4 separate regions of the Homo sapiens genome follow, and all the other regions are linked to region 1. Evidence: promoter capture Hi-C in 16 types of primary human blood cells and fetal thymus (Javierre and others, 2016). All regions are on one chromosome and are shown on one strand. The core of a region is centred on a gene start or on the middle of the fragment in contact, and the rest is flanking DNA. Distances in the headings are between cores, read along the strand shown.

Region 1 (4,492 bases), core at 184-2,683:
TGGAGGAGGTGGAGGAGGAGGAGGAGGAGAAGAAAGGGGTCTGGGAAAGGATCCGGTTCAAATTAAGTTCTCAAGCGCTGGTGGAAGGTTTAGCTACAGGTCACGGAGAAGATCAGGGAAGCAACAGGACACGTGGGGCAAGGGAGCGTGAGGCTTAGGAGCAATTAGAGGGAGACAAAAAGGTTCTGCTATCCACCAAACCTTCTTCGGTCTGGGCCCTCCCTTAGCAACCCTGGGGCTTTATACTCCCTCTCCACCAATCCCTGATGACCCCGGTGGTGCCTCACAATGGACAATGCCAAGTAGCGCCCGCATCATTCCAATGACCCCTCCCCCATCTCAGTCTCCCACACTCCTCGCAAGGACAGGTCCTCTCTGGAACCTTCACAAACCTGATTTCTGGTCCTCCCCAACCAGCTCCCTGTCCCTGCTTCTGGGCTCTCCTTCCTTCCTGAGCTCCCAGGGTTCCTCAAGGTCACTTTTGGCGACAAAACATAAAAAACAAATGATGGCAGGATGGCAGGAAGAACTTCATACCCAAGCAGAGTGCCAGGTTTTACAGCCTCCGCTCAGCCATTCATATCCTAAGCAACAAAACATCAGCAGGATGCGGAAGGTCCCGATAGTAAACCATCTCCATCACATCCATGTAGCCATCCGTCCATCAACCTGTATCTCAGGAACAAATGTAGATACATTCATTTTAAGCATGCATGGTACATTTACAAAAATTAACCTGACTTATTTTGTTCCAGCAAATCTCAATATATTTGAGAGCAATCAAATCACACAGCATGTTTCTGATCATATAACTGTGCTAGAAGTCAATGATTAAAAGCTAATTCAAAATTATTATTTGCTTGGAAATTCAAAGTGCCCTTATAAGACATAAACATAAGAAAGAATCCAAAATGAAACAAGATTGCCTTTCAACTCAATGATGAGATCATAACATGGCAATAAAATGTCTCCCCCTGGCCTGGGAATTCCTCTTTGTGGCACAAGGTTGTGTGATCTCAAATCACCCCTAACCCACCTAGACATTTTAACATCTGAAACCGAGTGATGATGTCCTTATCTATAATCATCTTACTGCCTGTGTGTGTGGACTTTAAATTCTGAACCCAAATGAGGGGGAGAAAACCAAGTTGACCTTCATCATTGACCTCTCAGGGACGTCCAAGGAATCTGTGCATTTCAAGAAACAAAGTTCATCAGCTTCTCTCCTAAGGTATTTGCCCACAATACCCAGAGGGCTTGGCAGCATCATGTGTGATGGGTGGGGAGCTCCAAGCAGGTGGGCAGGACCCAGGGGTCTGGTGACCAGGACAGACCCCCACTGTCCATCACCTTTCCTGGCCCTGTCCTCAGCTGAACTTCCCACAGGCCTTCTGCCCGATCACACAGAGTGTGCCCAAACTCACTCAGGCCTCTGGCAGCTGAAAACCACTGCTTTAAATCCCTTTACCATTTACTATGACATAAGGTTATTGTAAACAGGAAATATTCTATTGATGCTACAAATGGAAAGCCAATGCCTTTACCATAAATAGAAAAACAACCCTAAGAAACAAGCAAAACAAAAACAAAACAGGGGCTGGGTGTGGTGGCTCACGCCTGTAATCCCAGCACTTTGGGAGGCCGAGGTGGGTGGATCACAAGGTCAGGAGTTCCAGACCAGCCTGGCCAATATGGTGAAACCCTGTCTCTAATAAAATACAAAAATTAGCCGGGTGTGGTGGTGGGCGCCTTAGTCCCACCTACTTGGGAGGCTGAGGCAGGAGAATAGTTTGAACCCGGGAGGCAGAGTCTGCAGTGAGCCGAGATTGCACCACTGCACTCCAGCCTAGGCGACAGAGCGAGACTCAGTCTCAAAAACAGCAACAACTACAAACAAACAAAAAACAGGGTTAACAAAACTATGGAATTCAATTCTATTTATATGCTGCAGCCATGTTCCAGCCCTAGATTTGGCTGGGCATGGTGGCTCACGCCTGTAATCCCAGCACTTTGGGAGGCTGAGGCAGGCGGATCACGAGGTTAGGAGTTCGAGATCAGCCTGACCAACATGGTGAAACCCCGTCTCTACTAAAAATACAAAAATTAGCCAGGCACGGTGGCACCCGCCTGTAATCCCAGCTACTCAGGAGGCTGAGGCAGGACAATCCCTTGAACCCAGGAGGTGGAGGTTGCAGTGAGCCGAGATCGTGCCATTGCACTCCAGCCTGGGTGACAGAATGGAATGAGACTCTGTCTCAAAAAAAAAGAAGCCCTCGGATTTCGGTTGTGTTGGTTGTAAAAGGAGAGACCAAGTAAGTGGGGGTTGAAGTCAGATTAGACCAAAAGTGAATGGCAGAGAGTACTATAATGTCCATGAAGGGTTGCTAGAGTCACCGTGATCATAGCCCAAGCAGAGACAGGGAAAGGAAGATGTGAGCAGAGTTTGGGGCCTCAAACATTGGAGGTTACTCGTGCAGCCCAGGAAAGGCTCCCCAAAGCCAGGATCAACCTCCCTTGCAGGCGGTCCCTCATGGAGGCATGGCCAGGCACCTTAGATTTGAGACCAGCTGTGTTGCTGCTGACCAGCTGTGTGACCCTGGGCTGGTTTCCTTGCGTACAATGGGAGTGCCAATGGCTGCATGCATGCAAAGACCATCTGAGGATAGGAGGAAGCAATCTGTTGAGCACCCGTGTACCTGAGTGTCATCACCTCCCAAAGGCATCCTTCGTTCCAGAGCTGGCACCTTGGAAGGCCCTTGGTTACTAAATGCAGTGATGATGGTAACAGCAGTAAATCATCATTTACGGCTGATGACGGAAGGCCAGGGGGTAGGGCTCCTAGGTCCTGGATAAGAATGAGGGTCTGGGCACTTCTGGGGACAGCTGAGTGGTAGAACTCCTGGGTCTCCAGGGGGCAGGTCCATCTTCAGTGGCATTGGGCCTAGGCTGGGATGCTGAGTTATCCACTGGAGCATCAGCAGTACAGGCAGGCACAGAGGCAGTGGATCCATCGGAGGTGGCAGGTGTAGGATCATCTGGTGAGCAAGTAGAGTCACCAAGCCTGGCTTCTAGATATAAGAGAAGTTCCTGGGCCGGGTGCCACGGCTCAAGCCTGTAATCCCAGCACTTTGGGAGGCCGAGGCGGGTGGATCACGAGGTCAGGAGATCGAGACCATCCTGGCTAACACGGTGAAACCCCGTCTCTACTAAAACTACAGAAAAATTAGCCGGGCGTGGTAGCAGGCACCTGTAGTCGTAGCTACTCGGCAGGCTGAGGCAGGAGAATGGCGTGAACTCGGGAAGCGGAGCTGGCAGTGAGCCGAGATTGCGCCACTGCACTCCAGCCTGGGCGACAGAGGGAGACTCCGTTTCAAAAAAAAAAAAAAAAAAAAAAAACCAAAACAAAACCAAAAAAAGAATGTTCCAGAAAATTGCCATTTATTTATCTAATAGGTACTGTTAAGCTAGAATATTTGAATTTTGAAGAAAATAGTAGCCGAGCATGGTGGTGGGCACCCATGATTCCAGCTCCTTGGGAGGCTAAAGCAGAAGCATCACTTGACCCCAGGAATTCAAGACCAGCATGGGCAACATAGCGAGACCCTGTCTTTAAAAACTTTTTTTTTTTTTTTTGAGACAGAGTTAGCTCTTGTTGCCCAGGTTGGAATGCAGTGGCGTGATCTCAGTTCTGATCTCAGAGGCGGGCGGATCACAAGGTTTGGAGTTCGAGACCAGCCTGACCAATATGGTGAAACCCAGTCTCTACTAAACATACAAAAATTAGCGGGGCATGGTGGTGCATGCCTGTAATCCCAGCTACTCAGGAGGCTGAGGCAGGAGAATCACTTCAACCCGGGAGGCGGAGGTTGCAGTGAGCCAAGATCGCACCACTGCACTCCAGCCTGGGCGACAGACTGAGGCTCCATCTCAAAAAAAAAAAAAGATTGTTCTCGAAGTCAGGGCTGACAACCCTCTCAACCACAGCAGCGGTGGTAGGGACAGAGAGGTCCGAACAGAGGAGAGGCACTGAGGAGACAGACCCTTTGAGGCTGGGTGATGAGCAGGAGGTGGAGGGAGAGGCGAGTGGGGAGACCAGGTGAGTCCCAGGTTTCTGGTGTGGTTGGCCATTCCTGGAACTGGAAATAGAAGGGGCTGATTGAGAAGACAGGATGAAGACACTGTTGTAGACGTGAGCCTACGGGGTTCCCAGATGTAGCTGCTCCAGAATTAGTTGGATAAGCAGAATAAGACCATTGACTTGCAAGACTGCAGTGAGTGAAGATTTCCTTAAGAAGGCGTAGGCCCTGATTTCACCATTCTTATATAATTGCACTATCAGACAGCCTTTATTTGAGCTGCAAAAAAGGCTACCTAGTAAACCAGCCCAAAACTCAGTGCCTTACAACAAAGCATTCAGTGCCATGCTCATGAGACTGTAGGTGACTATGGTCTAGCTGGACAGCTGTGTTTCAAACTGAGAGTCAGTAGGCTT
Region 2 (4,492 bases), core at 1,286-3,785, 1.7 Mb after region 1:
GGTCAGCCGAGCCTCGATTGGTTCCTCTGTCTTTCACTCTGGGAGACGTTTGAGACCCAGCGTCTCTAGATCTCGTATTTGAATTTGTGGCGCTTGGTGTCCGCGAGTTGCCGAATGAAGCTGAGCGTCTCAGTGGAACCAGGGATCTCAGGGGTGAGCGACCGCGAGGGGAGAGCGACGAAAAGGGCGGCCGGAGCTGGAGGGGCGCGGAGTTAAACAAAAAAGGGCGGCCGGAGCTGCAGGGGCGCCGAGTTAAACACGTCATTTCCAGATGGGGGGCTTCAGGCGAGCTGCTTAGCTCCCCTGAGGCAGGCCCTCCGTCTGTTCGCCTTTTCGTAGCCTCTGAGTTTTTCCCTCACGTCGTTTTCCGGCAGTCCCAGAGACGCCACGCCTGCCCCCGTTCTGTTGCCCCTGATGGAAGGCTCCTCTTAACGCTACCTTCCCTCTTTCACAAAATGTCTCTCAGCTTCCTTATTTCGACGTGCTTACACCTCCCCCAAGTATAATTCACTCCCCACTGATGTCTTTGGTAGTTTCATCCTCGTCTTCATCACTAATACTATGAGACACGGGGTGCGTGCACTTGACGATGTAGAAAAATGGTTTTCGCGCAACCTGGTGAGCGTCCCACACCTCACAAATTGAATCCAAAAAATTCCTTATTCATAAAAGATGCTGCTGTCCTACTCTTCCCGACCGGGAATATCATGACGTGGAAAGCAGCAAGTGACAGCGTTTTATAAAGCGCTACAAAAGTAAGCTATTGATGCGTTCACATCGGAAACATAATTGTTTTGTTTTCGGTCGGACCCTCTGGATCCATAGGTTTCGTATTGGGTTTATGGATACTGTTCAGACTTTGAAATGAATAATGCCAAAAGTTACGTTGGAGGACAAACTGAGGATTGATCCCAAGCACAAAAGTAACCACTGATTAAAACCTTCTCTTCATTAACCTTTAGCTTCTTTGTCTATTGTGATACTTCTCCCACCCCGGTGGATTTAATTTCCATTGAGATTTATGAACATTTTAGGAGTTTACAGTCTAAATAGACAGCTTTCCCCACCTCTCCTGTATATGACCATGAAAATCCTCTATTAACTTTCCAGTTTGATAATGCAGTATGAGCTTCTATATGCTTAGCCTCTAGAACAGAGATTCTTTTGGGGGTGGGGGGTCTTAGTCCTGTTTAAGACCCAGAGGAAAACCTTGGAGCTTTTCTCCAGAATATGACACATACACACAAAATTTTGTATTAGTTTTAGAGAGTTGTATTTTGTTTTAGTAGAAAAGAGATCTGACTTTGTTGCTCAGACTGATCTCCAGTGTCAGCCTCCCAAAGGGTTGGGATTACAAGCGTGAGCCGCCGAGCCCAACCCTGTTTTAGGGAGTTTTAGATTCTGTTTTGAAATGTGGATATTAGTGGGACCCCAGTCCAATTCTACACGTTTATTTATATATATACACACACGTATGTCTATATATATAATTATATATATTTACATAATATATATCTATGTATATAATTTTTTTAAGTAGAAATAAGCAGCGAAACAGTGTTTTAACTTCTACCGAATGGCTGTCATTTCTTAGTTTTAAGACTTGTAGTTCGGAGGGAGGTGGAATGAGAAGGCTGAAAATTTTACATGAGCTCTGATTTAAGGATATTAGAAAAGTCATTTCTAAGTGTGGCGGTCCACGCCTGTAATCCCAACCAACACTTTGGGAGGCTGAGGTGGAAAGACTGCTTCAGCCCAGGAGTTCGAGACCAACCCAGGAGTTCAAGACGATAGTCGGACCCCATCTCTACAAAAAAATTTTAAAATTAGCCAGCCGTGGTGGTGTTCGCCTTGCTCCCAGCTACTCAGGAGGCTGAGGTGGGAGGATCACTTGGGCCGGGGAATTCCAGGCTGCAGTGGCCAATGATCGTGCCTATCTCCAAAACAAACAAACAAAAAACAGAGAGATAAAGGTAGTAAGGTAGTATATGAGCACAGGGGCATACCAAAAAATAAGTTCACAAGGTATTGCATCCAGAGTCTTTTTGAATTAACAAGAAATAGGAAAATTCTTGATCAACATGAAGAGTGAAAATAGTTTGTGTGCCTTAATTTTTTGGATGTTTTATATTAAAATAATTTTATGGTGAATTCTACCAGCATATACCTGAATATAATCTCATAATCTTCTTCCTAACCATCTCAGGCATTATCTTTCACATGAGAACATTAGCTTACCTGAAATTTGCTTTTATATATGATGTGAGGAATGGCTTTAACTAAATTTTTTTTCACTGTTCGGTTGCCATTTTGGGGAGATTGGTCTTCAGTTTTGCTTTATTTTGATTGTCTGGTTTTAGAATTAGGGTAATGGTGTCTGACATCTTTAAGTGATCTGGGATGTGTTGTATTCTTTACTTCTTGAAAAAGTTTGTATAAGATTGGCATTGCATTGTTAAGTGTTTGATAGAATACATCCATCTATGTAGATCCATATTTTCATAATTTTCCTTCAGTTTGAATAACTTCATTTATTTAATACTGCATGTAGGTGAAGGATTCTGTCAGTGTTTGTTTCTTAGAAAATGTTTTTATTTAACTTTCATTTTTGAAAGATTTATTTTTAAACTGGATATATAATTGTAGGTTGACTTTTTTTAGCACTTTAATATTCTATTGTCCTCTGGCTGTTGTTTTTAGATATTTGGTGTCATTCTTATCTTTGTTCTCCTGTATATAATGTCTCCCCCAACCCCATCCCACCTCACCCTCACTTTTGAAAAAACAAAGTCGGGCATATTTAGTCATAATTTGCATATGGTAAAGTTGACTCTTTTAAGGAATACTGTTCTATGAGTTTGGACAAATGTGAAGAGTTGTGAACTATCACAATCATTTTTAGTATATCTGTAAGTCTGTAAAGTCTCATGCACTTATTATCGATTTTCTATCCTCACCATTGGTCCCTAGCAACCCTTGATCTGATATCTACTGCTATAGGTTTGTGTTTGGAGGCATCATGTTAGTGGAATCACATAGTATGAGCTGGTAGTGTCTGGCTTCTTTCACTTGATATAATACTTTCAAGATTCATCTATGTTCTTGCATGTATCACTAATTTTTTCTTTTAATGTGTGAGTAGTATTCCATTATATGTATTACCAGTTTGTTTATCCATTCAGCAGTTAATGGGCTTTGAGTTGTTTCCAGGTTTTGGCTGTTAGTAATAAAGCTGCTATAAACATTTGGCTACAGGTGTTTGTGTGGCCAAAGATTTTAATTTCTTGCTTGCTTGCTTGCTCTTTGCTTTTTTTTTTCCTCTCTATTTTTGTTTTGTTTTGTTTTGTTTTGTTTTTGAGGTAGGATATGGCTCACCATAACCTCGAATTCCTGGGCCTCAGCCTTTTCAAGTAGCTGGGACTACAGGAGCATGTCACCAGGCCTAGCTAATTTGTAATGTTTGGTAGAAAAAAGGTCTTGCTATGTTGTCCAGGCTGGACTTAACCTCCTGGTCTTAACCTCCTGCCTCAAGCAATCCTTCCACCTCAGCCTCCCAAAATGTTGGGATTATAGGTGTGAGGCACCATGCTCAGCCTTAATTTCATAAAATACTTTAAAACCTTTTTCAAAAGTGGCTGTCCCATTTTGCATTCCCATCAGCTGCATATGGCAGTTCCAGTTATTCAACAGTCATATCAGCCCTTGGGGTTTATAGTAGTTAGTAGTTTAAATTTTTTAAACTATTGCTCTGGGTCTGTACTGATGTCTCATTGTAATTTTAAGTTATATTTCTCTGATGCTTAATGAAATAGAGTAGTCAGTCATTCATCCACTTGTTATCTGAACGTCTTTTGTGAAGCATCTATAAAAATGTTTTGCCCTTTTTTTTTTTTTTTTTTTTTTGAGATGCAGTCTCACTCTGTTGCCCAGGCTGGAGTGCAGTGGTGCGATCTCAGCTCACTGCAGCCTCCTCCTCCTGGGTTCAAGCAGTTCTCCCACCTAAGTCTCACGAGTAGCTAGGATTACAGGCGCACGCCACCATGCCCAGCTAATTTTTGTATTTTTAGTAGAGACATGGTTTCACCACATTGGCCAGGCTGGTCTCGAACTCCTGACCTTGGGGATCCACCTGCTTTGGCCTCTCAAAGTGCTGGGATTACAGGCGTTTGAGTTACCATGCCTGACCTGTTTTGCCTATTTTATTTGGTAGTTTTATTGAGGTACAATTTACGTACAACAAATTTCATATTTTTAAAGTGTATACTTTGATAAGTTTTGACATGTACCCATGAAACCATCACCACAATCAAATTAATGTACATCTACAACATGGCTGAACCTTGGAAACATGTTAAGTGAAAGAAGCCAGTCACAAAAGGTCATATATTGTATGATTTTATTTATAAAAAATTTCCAAAATAGGCAAATCCATAGAGATAGAAAGTAGATTAATGGTTGATAGGGGCCAGGGCAGGGGAGAATGGAAAATTAC
Region 3 (4,492 bases), core at 1,271-3,770, 1.3 Mb before region 1:
GGGAGTATATGTGTATATGTGTGTATAATTGACTATAGTATTCCAATAGAATATTAGAAGCTACATTGAATATGAAAAATATATGTATATATAAAGAGAGAGACACATATATGTGCACACATGTTCATTAGATTTGTTAAATGTTTGACTTCACTCTCAAGACTGTAAGCTCCTAAGGGCAGGAATTGTATGTTTTGTTCATCACCACATCTCCAATACCCACCAATGCCTATACATAGTAAGTACTCAAAAAGCACTGCTGTATGAATGTATTAGGGCTTCCAAGCTATACTGGTTAGACAGATTACAAAGCATGCTATATGAGAAGAGGCCTAGGTAGGTCATGTTTGAGAGCTGAGTGTTTGAAGTTTATGAAAAATGAACCAAATATCAAATAATAAAACAGACTACAAAAGGCAACAATCCCTAAATCCTGCCAATTCCTGTGCATCCCTTCAATTCCTGTGCATCCCTTCACTCACCAATTACAGAAGCTTTAAATTATTTCCCTTGTTTGGACTGAAGCCTAACCATTTTTCTTTGTTAATATGAATTTTCTTTGTTAGTTCACAAGACGCTTTATCATGGAAAAATATATACATATAATTTGGACCTTTAAAAAACTTATCATTATTGTATGGCTCCTGTCTTTCTCTGTAGCTATTATTAAATATCAGATTCTAACAGAGTAATATAAGCTAGACTGAATATGGAAGAGCTAAAACATTTTTAAAAAGCTCAAAGTACACAAAAAGCTAAATTTGCTTGATAAAAAAAATTACTATAAGTAGCTGGGCATGATGGCACATGCCTGTAATCCCAGTTACCCAGGAGGCTGAGGCAGAAGAATTGCTGGAACCTGGGAGGTGGAGGCTACAGTGAGCTGAGATGGCACCACTGCACTCCAGCCTGGGTGACAGAGTGAGACTCCACCTCAAAAAAATACAAAAAGCGGTGGCTCACGCCTGTAATCCCAGCACTTTGGGAGGCCAAGGCGGGCGGATCACGAGGTCAGGAGATCGAGGCCATCCTGGCTAACACAGTGAAACCCCGTCTCTACTAAAAATACAAATAATTAGCCAGGCATGGTGGTGGGCGCCTGTAGTCCCAGCTACTCGGGAGGCTGAGGCAGGAGAATGGTGTGAACCCAGGAGGCGGAGCTTGCAGTGAGCCAAGATCGCACCACTGCACTCCAGCCTGGGCGACAGAGCCAGACTCTGGCTCAAAAAAATAGAAAAAACAATTACTATAAACTTTTTGAAAAATATATTGACATTAAAGTACTCAAAGTGGGATGCTTTATACTGTTTATACAACTGTCCCTATTCTACCCAATTTTTCTCCCTTTCCCCCTCAACTTGTCCTGCCAAAAACTAAAAGCTTTGTGAAGCAAAAGCTTCAGGGCAACATGTCTGAAGCCCAGATCAGTCCCATTTTCCATTTTCCCTTTCCATCTTGAACTCCTCTCTCACTTTCCTGAGCCCCAGGTAGATGAAAAAGGTGTACAGGATAACCAGTTTCAAAGAAGAATGAAGGTAGGGAAAAAAATAATGAGTAAATCTAGTTAACATACCACAACCTCCTCAAACTCCCGGGTGGCTTCCACAAGCATCTTTTTGACTGCTTCTTCATTCTCCTGGATTTCTTCCTTCACATACTCTTCTTCAGGCAAATCTGGAGTTCTCTTATTCTGTGGTTCTGTTAAAGAGAAGAACAGCACAGATTAGCAATAGCCTCTTTTACATAAACCAAAAATATATTTGCTGTGTGAGCTCTGGGCCAGGAGTGAGCCTGCACTTTTTTTTTTTTTTTTTTTTTTTTTACTATCAGAAGACATCTGTTCTTGATTCAGAAGGGTAAAAAAAGCCTAGGACGTGCTCATTCACCCATTTCTATGCTTGCTTCTGAAAAGATGTACTATCCAAACAATGATACATTCTTAAACTCTGACATATAAAAATGCTCAAGTTTAATTCATTTTTTGCTTTGTAGTTACAGACTTTGCAAATTAATAAAAATGTGTCATAAATTGGGTTCCTTGGGAAGCAAATTCTGAGATGGAGATGGAAATTTAAAGAATTGGGAAGTGATTTTGGGAAAACCTTTGTGGAAGAGCAGGAGTGGGCAGAGAGAGAAGCTGACTTATCAAAGAGTTTCAACAAGACCTCAGCCAAAACCATGGGCAACTCTGGAGCTAGGAAGGCCCTTCAGAACTGACCAAGCTGGGGCCAAGGAGCAGACTTTGTAACTCTGCAAATATCAGTCACTGGATGGTGGCAGCCCTAAGAAGACAGGAGTTTGGGCAAGGCAGCTCTCCTAGCAGCCAAAGGCAGATCTGGGCCACGTACCACAATCCACCAATATACCATCTACAAAAAGGAGGGCCTCCTAAATTTAAACATCCTGTTCCTTTCCTTTACATTTTGTTCTCTGAAGATTTAACTCTGCTCCTTTTCTACTTACTAAAACATACTACAAAGGGGCAGCAAGAGGGAGTTTTTCGTGATGGAATTGTTCTAAATCCCAATGTGGGTGCTGGTTACAAAAATTTACCTATGTTAAAACACATATAACTGGAAAAGAGTACAGCAGTTCCTCAAAAAATTCAATATAATTTCATGATGACAACCCACAAGGAAAAAGAAAAAATTAAACATAAAATTACCATATGATCCAGCAATTGCATTTCTAGGCATATACCTAAAATAATGGAAAGCAGGGTCTCAAACAGATACTAGTTATACCCATGTTCACAGCAGCATTATTCAAAATAAACAAAAGATGGAAATAAGCCAAATGTCAATTGATACATTAATGGAAAAACAAAATGTAGTATATACATACAATGGAATATTATTCACCTTTAAAAAGGAATCAAATTCTGACACATGCTACAATATGGATGAACTTTGAAGATATTATGTAAAGTGAAATAAGCCAGACACAAAAGGGCAAATATTACATGATTCTACTTGTATGAGGTATCTAGAAATATTGAATTCATAGAAACAGAAGGCGGAATGGTTGTTTCCAGGGGCTAAGAGGAGGGAGAAATGGGGAATTAGTGTTTAATAGGCATGTTTCTGACCCCTAGAAGCAGAAAATAATAAAAGGCATGGAGTTTCAGTTTTAGAAAATGAGTAAGTTCTAGATACAGATGGTGGTGACAGTTGCCCAACAATGTGAATGCACTTAATAATGCCACTGAACAGAACACTTAAAAAACTATCTGAACTGTAAATTTTACGGTATATACATTTTACCACAATAAAAAATAAAGTTTTTAAAATGCATATAATTTTACACCATAAAAAGTTAATTTTACTGTATGTATTTAATAAAATTCTTAAATAGTAACTAAAAGAGGCTTATCTTTGAGAGATACATGCTAAAATAGATAAAATGATATGATGTCTGGCATTTGCTTCAAAACAGTCCAGGAAGTTGGGATGAAAAGTATAGATTTAAAAAATGCCATGAACTAAAATCAGGTGAAGGTGGGTGATGGGTATATGCAGTATAGTTCATTATACTATTCTGTATTTGTAAATGCTTGGAATTCTCCATAATAAAAAGTAAATTACTGTTCATTCACATAATGAAATACAGTGCAATCAATTAGAAAAGAATGAGGAAAAGCTTTGTGCAGACACACAAACACTTCAAGATAAATAATTAAGTTTAAAAAAAGTAAACCACAGATTAAGTTGATGTCTAGTGTGCTAGTATTACTATGAGCAAAGGGGACATGCAACAGACAAGAGACGGTAATAGAGGCTGCCCCTAGGAAAGGACCCAGGGAAAAGGGTATGTAAATAGGGAGACTGCCTTTTCAGTATGTACCCATTTGTACTCTGAGTATATCTACGGGATAAATTCCTAGAACAAAACTGCCATGTTTAAGGGAATATACGTTATAAATGTCATCAGATATTGTCAAAATGCCCCCCAAAGAAATTGTATCAATTTCTATTAACAACGTAGGAGTATACTTGTTTTCCCATACACTAACTTTGGATATTACCCATTGTATTGACTTTTGCCAATCTTATAGATAAAGTATAACATCTCCTTGCTCTGATTTAGTTAAAAAAAATAAATAACTTGGGGAGCTTTTGTTCTATTTTGTATAATGGAAGCTATCTCAATTCATCAAATAAATACAAAACAATTCCAACACACATATTTATTATCTCACAGGTCTCATGGGTCAAAGTATAGCTTATACTGACCCTAGGCTCAGGGTCTGATTTACTTTCTTTCTTCTTCTTTTTTTCTTTCCGAGATGGAGTCTGGTTCTGTCACCCAGGCTGGAGTGCAGGGGCTTGATCTCAGCTCATTGCAACCTACACCTCCCTGGTTCAAGCAATTTTCATGCCTCAGCTGCCTGAGTAGCTGCGATTACAGGCGCATGCCACCATGCCTGGATAGTTTTTGTAGTTTTTAGTAGAGACGGAGTTTCATCATGTTGGCCAGGCTGGTCTCGAACTCC
Region 4 (4,492 bases), core at 617-3,116, 1.1 Mb before region 1:
GTGCCTTGAATGCTTTTATTATGCCCCGATTGAGGGGTTGGATGAGAGACTTAGTGTTTGGGGGCATAAAAAGAACTCCTATGTTGGCGTGTGCATTTTCGAGTTCTTTGCAGCAATGGATTGTAGCATTATCCAAAATTAACAAAACCTTGAAGGTGCCCGGCGCGGTGGCTCACGCCTGTAATCCCAACACTTTGGGAGGCCGAGGCAGGCGGATCATGAGGTCAGGAGATCAAGACCATCCTGGCTAACACGGTGAAACCCCGTCTCTACTGAAAATACAAAAAATTATCCAGGCGTGGTAGTGGACGCCTGTAGTCCCAGCTACTCGGGAGGCTGAGGCAGGAGAATGACGTGAACCCGGGAGGCGGAGCTTGCAGTGAGCCGAGATTGCGCCACTGCACTCCAGCCTGGGCGACAGAGCGAGACTCCGTTTCAAAACCAAACCAAAACAAAACAAACCCAAACAAACAAAAAACAAAACAAAACAAAACAAAAAACCCTTGAAGGCAAGGTTTCTGCCCTGGAGACAGTGTTCAGCTTCTGGGATGAAGCAGTTGTGGAACCAATCAGACATCATCCACACTTTTTTGTTCCACCTCCAATAGACTGGCAGATGGTTCACGTATTTCCCGTTAAGTGCTTGTGGATTTTGGGTTCTTTACACCATTAGGAGTTTGCACTTTAGTCGCTCTTGGCATTGGCGCACAATAACAAGGGTGCATGATCCTGGCATGATTTAAAGCCAGGGGCTTTGGAGGCCGTTTGCATTATATAGGTTCGTTTGCCAACATCCTTGTAAAATAAGCCAGTCTCATCCGCATTGAAAACCTGCTCTTTCACATAACCCTTTTCCTGTATAACACTTAGCAAGTATTTTTAAAATTCTTCCGCAGCCTCCTGATCTGCAGAGCTCGCCTCACCTGCAAGTTTAACATTTTTCACCCCGTATCGCCTTTTGAAACGCGCGAGCCGGCCAGCACTCGCCGAGAAGGGCTTAGCATTTCTTTGACTCTGGGTAACGTGACCACAGATATCTTTGGCTTTCAGCCTCACCACAATGCTGTCCACTATGTTTTTTTTAATCGATTGACATCTCATGAATCCACAAATTTAGCCGCTTTTCCATCTTTTCCATCTTTGTCATAGCTTCATCACGCACGATGGAGGTCACTTCAGCACTATCCGGAGCGGCCTCACGGACAGATCGGTGAATTTCCTTTTCCTTTTTCTTGATGTACCGGATTGTCGACTCGTTAACATTGAGCTCATGGCCAACAGCACTGTAACTCATGCCTGATTGGAGCTTATCCAACACGCGGACTTTCTCCGTAAGGCACATCACGGTCTTCTTTCGCTTAGGAACACTGGGCAGAGCTTAAGCACTACGCTTGGGGGCCATTTTAGAAAGCAAAACCACCCACAAAAAGCAGAAAAAAAAGTGTCAGTAAACAGACTGCGGAAAGGACTCTTTGTTTACAGCACAGGAGCTGCGACTAGAAGGCGGCGCTTCTCCCAGTTCAAACTTCAGCTGGGAACCTTACCTCCGCCAACTCCAAATTTTCACCCTCTGCGCATGCCCGGGAAGAACCCCAGACAGTACCGTGATGATTGATTTTAGGGTTACAAATACATTTTAGCAAGTAAGTGAATTTGGCATTACGAATTAATGATTAATGAAGGTCACCTGTATTTCCATAGATATGTAATTTTATTTAAGCAGGTTTATTATATTAAGGCGGCGAGGCAGCGCCGAAGACTACAAGTTCCAGCATGCACCGCGTCCGGGCGGGTTCGGGCTCCCAGCGAGGGCTTCAGGGACGCCAGCCCGGAGGCATCGGCCGGAAGTGTCGTAGGGCAACCACGTAGTACTCTCTGCGCATGTGCAAAGCGCTGTCGGGGGCCGCCCTAGCTGCCGTCGCCGCCGCCGGGGCTCTATGGTCTCTCCCTAGAGCTTTGCCGTTGGAGGCGGCTGCTGCGGTCTTGTGAGTTTGACCAGCGTCGAGCGGCAGCAACATGGAGGAATTCGACTCCGAAGACTTCTCTACGTCGGAGGAGGACGAGGACTACGTGCCGTCGGGTGAGCGATTCCGCCTGAGGCGAGAAGCGAATTGCCCCGCCCCACGCCTCACGTGAGGCGCGCTCTGCCCCCGCGGGCGTCTGCCCTGTGGCCCAGGTGGTCCAGGGGGGCTCCTGTTCTCGAGCGTCCGCTCCCTCAGGCCCCTCATCCTCGGCCGCTCCGGCCCGAGGCGTGTGCGCGTGGCGGTTCTGTGCTCCCCTCCCGTTGGGCAGCTCCGGCCGCCGCCCCCTCTTGCAGCGCGGGAACCGGCACATGGACACGGCCCCTTGTCGCTAGGGACGCTCGTCGGTCAGCCCCGAACGACACCGCTGCTTCAGAAGTCGGGGCGGCAGTCCGAGCCTTGGAGGTTTTTTTCAGCCCTGGCCCGAGAGAGCTGCTGGCCACCACCCCGTCCAAGATAGAGCTGTCCGCTCTCCGCCTGGTTGTTAGAAAGTTCTGATAGAAAGTTCCCCCTTTGATGCTTTTTGCCTCATTGTGACGTCCACCCATCCTCTCCTCTCAGAACTTTCTTTCCTTAGGGATCTCAACCCGAACGGGGTGAGAATGAATCTTACTGAAGAAATCTTTCTGTTCCCCCTTCTTGGTCTTCCCCAGACAAACCGTCTCGTTGAAAGTATCTTCACCCATTCACATCTTCAGTTGAAAGACTAGACAAACAAGAAACAAACAGACTAACAAAACACAACCCAGGAGTCGTCCCTATTCTCTTTGTTTTACTTTGTTCTGTTCTGTTTTATTTAAAGACAGGGTCTTGCTGTTGTCTAGGCTGGAGTGCAGTGATGCGATCTTGGCTCACTGCAACCTCAGACTCCTGGGCTCAAGCGATCCTCCCGTCTCAGCCTCTGGAGTAGCTGGGACTGCAGGTGCAGGCTGCCACGCCCGCTAATTTTTTAAATTTTTTTTTTTTTTTTTTTTTTTAGAAATGGCATCTTGCTATGTTGCCCAGGCTGGTCTCGAACTCGTGGGCTCAAGTGATCCTCCCACCTCAGCCACCCAAAGTGCTGGGATTACAGGCATGAGCCACCGCGCCCCGGCTAGTGAAGTATTTCTAAAAGGCACGTTGAAAACTAGCCATTCCATTCCTGGCGCGGTGGCTCATGCTTGTAATCCCAACACTTTGGGAGGCTGAGGTGGGTGGATCACAAGGTCTGGAGATCGAGACCATCCTGGACAACATGGTAAAACCCCGTCTGTACTAAAAACACAAAAATTAGCTGGGCATGGTGGCACGCGCCTGTAGTCCCAGCTCCTCAGGAGGCTGGAGCAGGAGAATCGCTTGAACTCGGGAGGTGGAGGTTGCAGTGAGCCGAGATCACACCACTGCACTCCAGCCTGGGTGACAGAGCGAGACTCCGTCTCAAAAAAAAAAAAAAAAAAGTTAGCCAGTCCCATCACCCTCATCCCTATTTTATTTAATATTCCTCAGGAGAAACTTCTTTCCACCTTTTGAATTTGGTATTATATTTCTGTTGTCTATTGATTTAACCCATGTATAGTAGGTATCATTTTTAGTAGCCCCTGACCTCCTTCCCCTCATCCCAAACACACACACAAACACTTCCACCTTCGGGGCCTCCCCAACTCCGTAGTCTGCCGTTGAACCTGTGTCCAGTTTTAGTTAGATCAGTATTCAGTGTTTTTTTTTCTTTCGAGACAGTGTCTCGCTCTGTGGCTCAGGCTGGAGTGCAGTGGCACAGTCTCTGCTTAATGCGGCCTCTGCCTTCCCGGTTCAAGCAGTTCTGCCTCAGCCTCCTAAGTAGGTGGGATTACAGGCGCCCGCCAGCACACCCGATCGATTTTCTTTTCTTTTCTTTTTTTTTTTTTTTTTTTTTTTGAGACAAGAGTTTTGCTCTGTCTCCCAGGCTGGAGTGCAGTAGCGGGATCTCGTCTCACTGCAAGCTCTGCCTCCCGGGTTCACGCCATTCTCTTGCCTCAGCCTCCTGAGTAGCTGGGACTACAGGTCCCCGCCAGCACACCCGAATGATTTTTTTGTATTTTTAGTAGAGACGAAGTTACACCATGTTGGCCAGGCTTGTTTCAAACTCCTGACCTCAAATGGTCTGCCCGCCTCGGCCTCCCTGAGTGCTGGGATTACAGGCGTGAGCCACCGTGCCAGGCCCAGTGTTTTTTTTTTCTAATGACAGTGTGAATAAACATCATGTTGACAGCTGAACCGTATGTTATACAGATTACTTTTCCTGCACTTCTTGTTTTCTCTGGTGCTAATAATTGCCATTTTTTGTTGCTACTTAGCTGTCTATGTACTTAACTGCTGTAAACCAAAAATAAAATTCTAAGGCGCCCCCAACCATCTGAATGGACTTCCTCCTTAGCCAGGGCTCTTTAACATTTAACCTGAGAGACTGTTTTGGGCCATGATGGGAAGTGGGGGCTGAACCTGCCTCATTGTAT

The links. Contacts are between HindIII fragments. The CHiCAGO score rates a contact against its expected background, and 5 or more counts as called.
Region 2: a contact is called between a fragment that was not itself captured here and the fragment with the promoter of NPIPB15 in region 1, in 2 of 17 cell types (total CD8 T cells and total B cells). The highest score is 6.5, in total CD8 T cells.
Region 3: a fragment that was not itself captured here is called in contact with the fragment with the promoter of NPIPB15 in region 1 in 1 of 17 cell types (monocytes); the score reaches 5.1 in monocytes.
Region 4: a contact is called between the fragment with the promoter of CFDP1 here and the fragment with the promoter of NPIPB15 in region 1, in 6 of 17 cell types (total CD4 T cells, activated CD4 T cells, neutrophils and 3 more). The highest score is 9.2, in total CD4 T cells.

What each region holds. Positions count from the first base shown.
Region 1 is chr16:74,373,247-74,377,738 of GRCh38, reverse strand. NPIPB15 (nuclear pore complex interacting protein family member B15) reads right to left here and starts at 1,433. Exons shown (of 8, transcript NM_001306094.2): 1 at 393-1,433. The HindIII fragment of the contact is 9,807 bases long and covers 1-4,492 here.
Region 2 is chr16:72,660,553-72,665,044 of GRCh38, reverse strand. It overlaps LINC01572 (long intergenic non-protein coding RNA 1572), which reads left to right and starts at 75. Exons shown (of 14, transcript NR_126330.2): 1 at 75-153. RefSeq lists enhancers at 114-173, 214-333. The HindIII fragment of the contact is 7,084 bases long and covers 1-4,492 here.
Region 3 is chr16:75,651,479-75,655,970 of GRCh38, reverse strand. TERF2IP (TERF2 interacting protein) reads right to left here. Exons shown (of 3, transcript NM_018975.4): 2 at 1,574-1,698. Among named protein-coding and RNA genes, the nearest start is that of TERF2IP, 6.0 kb to the right of the region's middle. The HindIII fragment of the contact is 2,243 bases long and covers 1,399-3,641 here.
Region 4 is chr16:75,430,877-75,435,368 of GRCh38, reverse strand. It overlaps CFDP1 (craniofacial development protein 1), which reads left to right and starts at 1,866. Exons shown (of 7, transcript NM_006324.3): 1 at 1,866-2,080. The coding sequence starts at 2,017. It overlaps LOC124903723 (tigger transposable element-derived protein 1-like), which reads right to left and starts at 165. Exons shown (of 1, transcript XM_047435019.1): 1 at 1-165. The coding sequence starts at 67. RefSeq lists enhancers at 1,260-1,827, 1,371-1,880 and silencers at 2,191-2,430, 3,687-3,886. The HindIII fragment of the contact is 10,360 bases long and covers 1-4,492 here.